2 separate regions of the Homo sapiens genome follow, and region 1 is linked to region 2. The links are contacts of gene promoters, found by promoter capture Hi-C in blood cells and fetal thymus (Javierre and others, 2016). All regions are on one chromosome and are shown on one strand. Each heading gives the region's core, a stretch centred on a gene start or on the middle of the fragment in contact. The rest is flanking DNA. Distances are from core to core; before and after follow the strand shown. Region 1 overlaps MAGOHB (mago homolog B, exon junction complex subunit). Region 2 holds the start of CLEC12A-AS1 (CLEC12A antisense RNA 1).

Region 1 (3,418 bases), core at 261-2,760, 660 kb after region 2:
AAATAGGTTATTACAATTCAGGGTGACAGAAAAAAGTAAGAGCACTATGGGGACACTTTGAGGGGAATGGGCACAAATAAAAATAAGTGGCTAGGATCAGACCAAGAAAATGGGATGTGCTACAAAACCCTGGGGCAGAGGAGAGACAGATCTTGGGAAGACATCGATAGCTAAAGCATACTTAGGCCATAATGGATTTTTTCCATCTTTTTCCCAAGTATTGAGCCCAAGAAGGACAGTGAGATGATATAGGCCTAATGAGGCTGACATAATCCAATAAGGATTTCTTTCCTTTGGATTTGCTGATACTGTATCCACATTTTTATACAAAGTAGCTAATACAACTTGGGCATTATTATATACAGCTGTTGGATTAAAAGTTTTTGGACAATCAATGAAATACTCTGCTAACTTCTACTGAGAGACAAGATAATAAGCCTTTAATGACATAAAAATCAGGATTACATCTGCATAATAAACTGATAGGATGCCACTGAAATTATCTTGGCTAGCAAACTGACTATAGTTCTAAAATGAGCCTCTGTAATAATGAAAACTTCGCCAAAATGCTTTAACATACTTACTTTGACTGATTTACATCAATAAGAGAACCTATTTTTGATGTGGTAAAAGATATGTGCTCATCTCCAATTACAATTTCAAGCTCCTAAAAAATATAGCAGAAAAATGTAGTTAATATAAAAATCTATCCCAGAGGTATCTGTATTCTTGCTACAAGCAGATCCCAATTTTAGTTGCAAGTTTTCTAGCAGCCAACAGAGGGAGTGGGGGGCGAGGGGGAAAGAAACATGGTTTCTTAGATATAAACTATATCCTTAAAATAAAGACTGCTCACGCGCACTACCCCCAAGTTTAGGACCAACAAAGAATTGCTTTCCAGAGACATAAAGAAGACACTATGAAACAAAATGACAAAGAAATATTTCTTACAATGTCAGTAAAAACTAAAGACATCACTTTGAAGCACATGTTGTAAAAATGATTGGAGTATAAGACCATTTTTAATATGATAAATACACATTTTTTCTTTCTGGAAGATTCTACAAATAAAATGTGTAATATTAATAACCACCACCACTTTAGCACCTACTGTATGTCAGGCCCTAGTGGTAGGGACTTTGTACTCTCTGTAATCTTGAAAATAACCTTACTAACCTATTTTACAAATGTGTAATCCAAAACTCATAGAGCAGAAGAAAATACTTGTTGATATTTATAACCACTAATAATGATGGTACTTATATTTGATCCCAAGATGGTAAGACTTCAAAACTAATACTCCACAAAATAACTAAAATTAAGAACTAGTAAAAAAAAAAAAAAAAAACCAACCTAATGTAGATGTTCCTAGTGTGCTGTAATTACTGTATAGATTTTTCCCTATATTGTTTATCTGCAGGCCTAAAACCAATAATTAAAAAGCTATATCTGTAATGAATCTTCAAGTTAACAGACACTATTGAAGACAATCCTAGCTATTTATTTAATCAGAGGCCTAATTATGCAGTTTATGACACACACAGAATGGAGAATTAGCTAAGATGCTCTAACAGCCATAAAACCTTTGACTTGATACAAAAGGCAATTTCTGAAGCATGCCTACTCCTCCCCACTAACCAAAACCCATGAACACATCCTTAAGTGAATAGATAAAATACTAGGCTCTCCCTGAGTCTAAATGATATAAAAGGTTAGCTGCTGTGGTTTGCTTTTTAGTACATATGTGTATCTGCATAAAACAAACTGAGGCCTAAATTTACTTTTTAAAAGTGATACGATGCTTAAAATAAATACTGTTAACTATTACCTTTGCTTTTCTAAATAATGCTTCTTTAAGCAGAAGACTTAAGTTACTCCTACAGAGTGTCAGCATGTGTTAGATTTCTCCACATTTTCTTCTATTCAAAGAAGGTGATACAAAGTACAATCCTCAGGGATATACAAAAGTGAAATTAAATGTTTCTTCCTTCCAGGGGTTGTTGAAGGAATTTCTCCAAGAGTTGAAAAGACCCAATTCAGAAACCAAACTTTCTTTTTACAGAGTGAAATTAGGCCTTCAGAGTTCTTCAGAAGCCTGAGAAACATCATTTATTCTGAAGGAATATGAGAGGGAAATGCAATCATCAGTTTTAACAAAGAAACCACCAATCAAGTTTCTCTCTGGGGTATAGGGATGCAAGTAAGAATTTTAGAAGTTATGATTTGGCAAAAATAAATTTTACATAGTCATATTCTTAATAAAAGTGATTAACACACAACAGAAATTATTCATAACACTGCATTGTGAAAACATCCTAACGTTGGCTGGGGTGACTACAGAGAAAGATGTCTAAATTTAGAGCTATGCACTGACTCCTTCACTACTAGGAGGTAGCACAGAAAAACAGAACTAAGAGATAAAATTAAAGAGAATTTACCAGGTGCCTATTAAATAGAAAGCCAAAGAATCAACTTAGACTCATTCCAAATAAATAACGGGAAACAAAATAGTATTATCAATTTTTAATATTTATACACTTAAAGAATCACTAAATACAAACCTGTCGGCCAACCCTATCAGGGGGAGGCCACAAAGCATCATCTTCTTTTGTAATTTCACTGTCATCAATAATTCTCTTCAGTTCTTCCATTACACTCTTGTGCACATAAGCCTAAAAATTAATCATAATAAAATGAGATAATGCCCACCTATGTCACCCCTCAACTCAGAAAGAAATGAGTTACAAACCCTGAATATCCAAATAGAGGAATATAGAAAAATTTAATTGATTCCAAAAGTAGAGGAGACAGAATCACTTATCCTTGTTACACTGCTTTTCTTCATCTCTTGCCCTTTCCTTTCACATACATTTTTTCCCTCTTCTCATCATTACCTGTCTTTCAAACACTGTATTCTGCCTTTGCAACACTGAGATCCAAATACCCACAAGTGGTTAACTTGTGTCATCACAAGATCTATAAGGTGAACTGTAATAAATGCAAGTATACTGAGGCAGGAGAATCGCTTGAGCCTGGGAGGCAGAGGTTGCAGTGAGCTGAGATCAAGCCACTGCACTCCAGCTTGGGTAACAGAGCGAGACTCTGTCCCTAAATCAATAAATCAATAAATGCAAGTGTAGTTCACGTCAAGGTTAGTTCTCTGAACTTTCTCATTCCTATGGATGCAAACACTGTATCTAATTTAAATGGAAACTCTTTCAATCTATAAATTGCCTTCTTCTTTACAATATAGCCTTAGATGTACTTTTTTAAATTCAACACAGACTTGAAGAAAATGGGCTAAATGCAAAAAAAAAAAAAAAAAAAAAAAAGACATTCACATAGAACTTACCTCTTTTCTGATCATGACATCATTTTTGTAATTGCTGTTGTTGGCATATCTAAGCTTTCCTGTGGG
Region 2 (3,240 bases), core at 733-3,232:
AGGTGAGTGTCTTTTGTGGATACCGACAGTGGGAATGGCTCCTCTCAATTTGAGAAATTCTGAAGGAATTTCCATTGGCAAGTTCAGCAAGGCCAACTGACGGAGAGAGGAAGCACCCTGACTGTTCCAGTTCAGACACTCTTGGGGCTTGTTAGTAATTGAGTATGTGTCTGGATAAGTGAGTGTCATTTGTGGGTCCAGACAGCAGGATCTGCTTTTCTCAATTTGAGAAATTCCGAAGGAATCTCCATTTGCAGATTGAACTAGCCCAACAAACAGGGAGAAAGCAACTCAACTGTTTCAGTTTGGACTCTCTTGGGACTTGCTTATTGTTGCAGCAGTTAGATTGTATTCTGGTGGTTGTTTGTGTGTTGATGTAGTTGTGGGAGATCAGGGTTTGATCTGAGTGCAGACCGCTTGGGTGTATTCTTCAGGGTTGGTCTGCATGTGGCTGTGGGCCAGTGGAGTGAGGGAACATCTCTACCCGTATCACGCTGAACATGCCCAATCTCATCTGATCTCAGACAGTCTTTGAATTGTAGCACTGCCTTATATTTGGATTTATTTTGCTGTTGAATGTGAATATGGGATGGAAGTCCATGTCTCCAGGCTTCTATGCTGCTGCTCTAAGGACAGGCAGGCCTGATTAGTATGTGCTGCTGTTTGGCTACAGAGTTCTTTGGAGTCTGGAGAGATTTGGCCTTTAAAAATCAAACTGTCAGACCCTGTCTCAAGGAAAAAAAAAAAAACAGGATGTGAGCGCTCTCCCTCTCCCTCTCCCTCTCCCTCTCCGTCTCCCTCTCCCTCTCCCTCTCCGTCTCCCTCTCCCTCTCCCTCTCCGTCTCCCTCTCCCTCTCCCCACGGTCTCCCTCTCATGTGGAGCCGAAGCTGGACTGTACTGCTGCCATCTCGGCTCACTGCAACCTCCCTGCCTGATTCTCCTGCCTCAGCCTGCCGAGTGCCTGCGATTGCAGGCACGCACCACCACGCCTGACTGGTTTTGGTGGAGACGGGGTTTCGCTGTGTTGGCCGGGCCGGTCTCCAGCCCCTAACCGCGAGTGATCCGCCAGCCTTGGCCTCCCGAGGTGCCGGGATTGCAGACGGAGTCTCGTTCACTCAGTGCTCAATGGTGCCCAGGCTGGAGTGCAGTGGCGTGATCTCGGCTCACTACAACCTACACCTCCCAGCAACCTGCCTTGGCCTCCCAAAGTGCCGAGATTGCAGCCTCTGCCCGGCCGCCACCCCGTCTGGGAAGTGAGGAGTGTCTCCGCCTGGCCACCCATCGTCTGGGATGTGAGGAGCCCCTCTGCCTGGCTGCCCAGTCTGGAAAGTGAGGAGCGTCTCCGCCCGGCCGCCATCCCATCTAGGAAGTGAGGAGCGCCTCTTCCCAGCCGCCATCACATCTAGGAAGTGAGGAGCGTCTCTGCCCGGCCGCCCATCGTCTGAGATGTGGGGAGCGCCTCTGCCCCGCCGCCCCATCTGGGATGTGAGGAGCGCCTCTGCCCGGCCGAGACCCCGTCTGGGAGGTGAGGAGCGTCTCTGCCCGGCCGCCCCGTCTGAGAAGTGAGGAGACCCTCTGCCTGGCAACCACCCCGTCTGAGAAGTGAGGAGCCCCTCCGCCCGGCAGCCGCCCCGTCTGAGAAGTGAGGAGCCTCTCCGCCCGGCAGCCACCCCATCTGGGAAGTGAGGAGCGTCTCCGCCCAGCAGCCACCCCGTCCGGGAGGGAGGTGGGGGGGGTTAGCCCTCCGCCCGGCCAGCCGCCCCATCCGGGAGGGAGGTGGGGGGTCAGCCCCCCGCCTGGCCAGCCATGCCGTCCGGGAGGGAGGTGGGGGGGTCAGCCCCCTGCCCGGCCAGCCGCCCCGTCCAGGAGGTGAGGGGCGCCTCTGCCCGCCCCCCCCTACTGGGAAGTGAGGAGCCCCTCAGCCCGGCCAGCCACCCCGTCTGGGACGGAGATGGGGGGTCAGCCCCCCCGCCCAGCCAGCTGCCCCGTCCGGGAGGGAGGTGGGGGGGTCAGCCCCCCGCCTGGCCAGCCGCCCCGTCCGGGAGGGAGGTGGGGGGGTCAGCCCCCCGCCTGGCCAGCCGCCCCGTCCGGGAGGGAGGTGGGGGGGGTCAGCCCCCCCGCCCAGCCAGCCGCCCCGTCCGGGAGGTGAGGGGCGCCTCTGCCCGGCCGCCCCCTACTGGGAAGTGAGGAGCCCCTCTGCCTGGCCAGCCGCCCCGTCCGGGAGGGAGGTGGGGGGGTCAGCCCCCTGCCCGGCCAGCCGCCCCGTCCGGGAGGTGAGGGGCGCCTCTGCCCGGCCGCCCCTACTGGGAAGTGAGGAGCCCCTCTGCCCGGCCACCACCCCGTCTGGGAGGTGTGCCCAGCAGCTCATTGAGAACGGGCCAGGATGACAATGGCGGCTTTGTGGAATAGAAAGGCGGGAAAGGTGGGGAAAAGATTGAGAAATGGGATGGTTGCCGTGTCTGTGTAGAAAGAAGTAGACATGGGAGACTTTTCATTTTGTTCTGCACTAAGAAAGATTCTTCTGCCTTGGGATCCTGTTGATCTGTGACCTTACCCCCAACCCTGTGCTCTCTGAAACATGTGCTGTGTCCACTCAGGGTTAAATGGATTAAGGGCGGTGCAAGATGTGCTTTGTTAAACAGATGCTTGAAGGCAGCATGCTCGTTAAGAGTCATCACCAATCCCTAATCTCAAGTAATCAGGGACACAAACACTGCGGAAGGCCGCAGGGTCCTCTGCCTAGGAAAACCAGAGACCTTTGTTCACTTGTTTATCTGCTGACCTTCCCTCCACTATTGTCCCATGACCCTGCCAAATCCCCTCTGTGAGAAACACCCAAGAATTATCAATAAAAAAAAAAAAAAAAAAAAAAAAAAAATCAAACTGTCAGCTGGGCGCAAGAAACTGAGGTGGGCAGATACTTGAGCCCAGGAGTTCGAGACCAGCCTGGGCAACATGGTGAAACCCTGTCTCTACAAAAAATACAAATATTAGCTGGGTGTAATGGTGCATACCTGTAGTCCCAGCTACTCAGGAGGCTGAGGTGGGAGGATTACCTGAGCCTGGGAGGTTGAGGCTGCAGTGAGCCTTGATCACACCACTGCACTTCCAGCCTGGGTGACGGAGATCCTGTCTCAAAAAAAAAAATAATCAAACTATCATGGAAACTGCTTTATTCAAAATTTTGTTTCACAACCTTTATTGGATTACCTATCAGAACAAATAAAGTTCAACCATGT

The links. Contacts are between HindIII fragments. The CHiCAGO score rates a contact against its expected background, and 5 or more counts as called.
Region 1: a contact is called between a fragment that was not itself captured here and the fragment with the promoter of CLEC12A-AS1 in region 2, in 1 of 17 cell types (neutrophils). The highest score is 5.0, in neutrophils.

Annotation. Positions count from the first base shown.
Region 1 is chr12:10,607,270-10,610,687 of GRCh38, forward strand. MAGOHB (mago homolog B, exon junction complex subunit) reads right to left here. Exons shown (of 5, transcript NM_018048.5): 2 at 3,353-3,411; 3 at 2,562-2,672; 4 at 585-667. Among named protein-coding and RNA genes, the nearest start is that of MAGOHB, 4.6 kb to the right of the region's middle. The HindIII fragment of the contact is 3,788 bases long and covers 1-3,404 here.
Region 2 is chr12:9,951,355-9,954,594 of GRCh38, forward strand. It overlaps CLEC12A-AS1 (CLEC12A antisense RNA 1), which reads right to left and starts at 1,983. Exons shown (of 3, transcript NR_135047.1): 1 at 1,196-1,983; 2 at 1-725. LOC124902874 (a long non-coding RNA gene) reads left to right here and starts at 303. Exons shown (of 2, transcript XR_007063207.1): 1 at 303-1,683. It also overlaps a transcript of CLEC12A not described here. The HindIII fragment of the contact is 17,088 bases long and covers 1-3,240 here.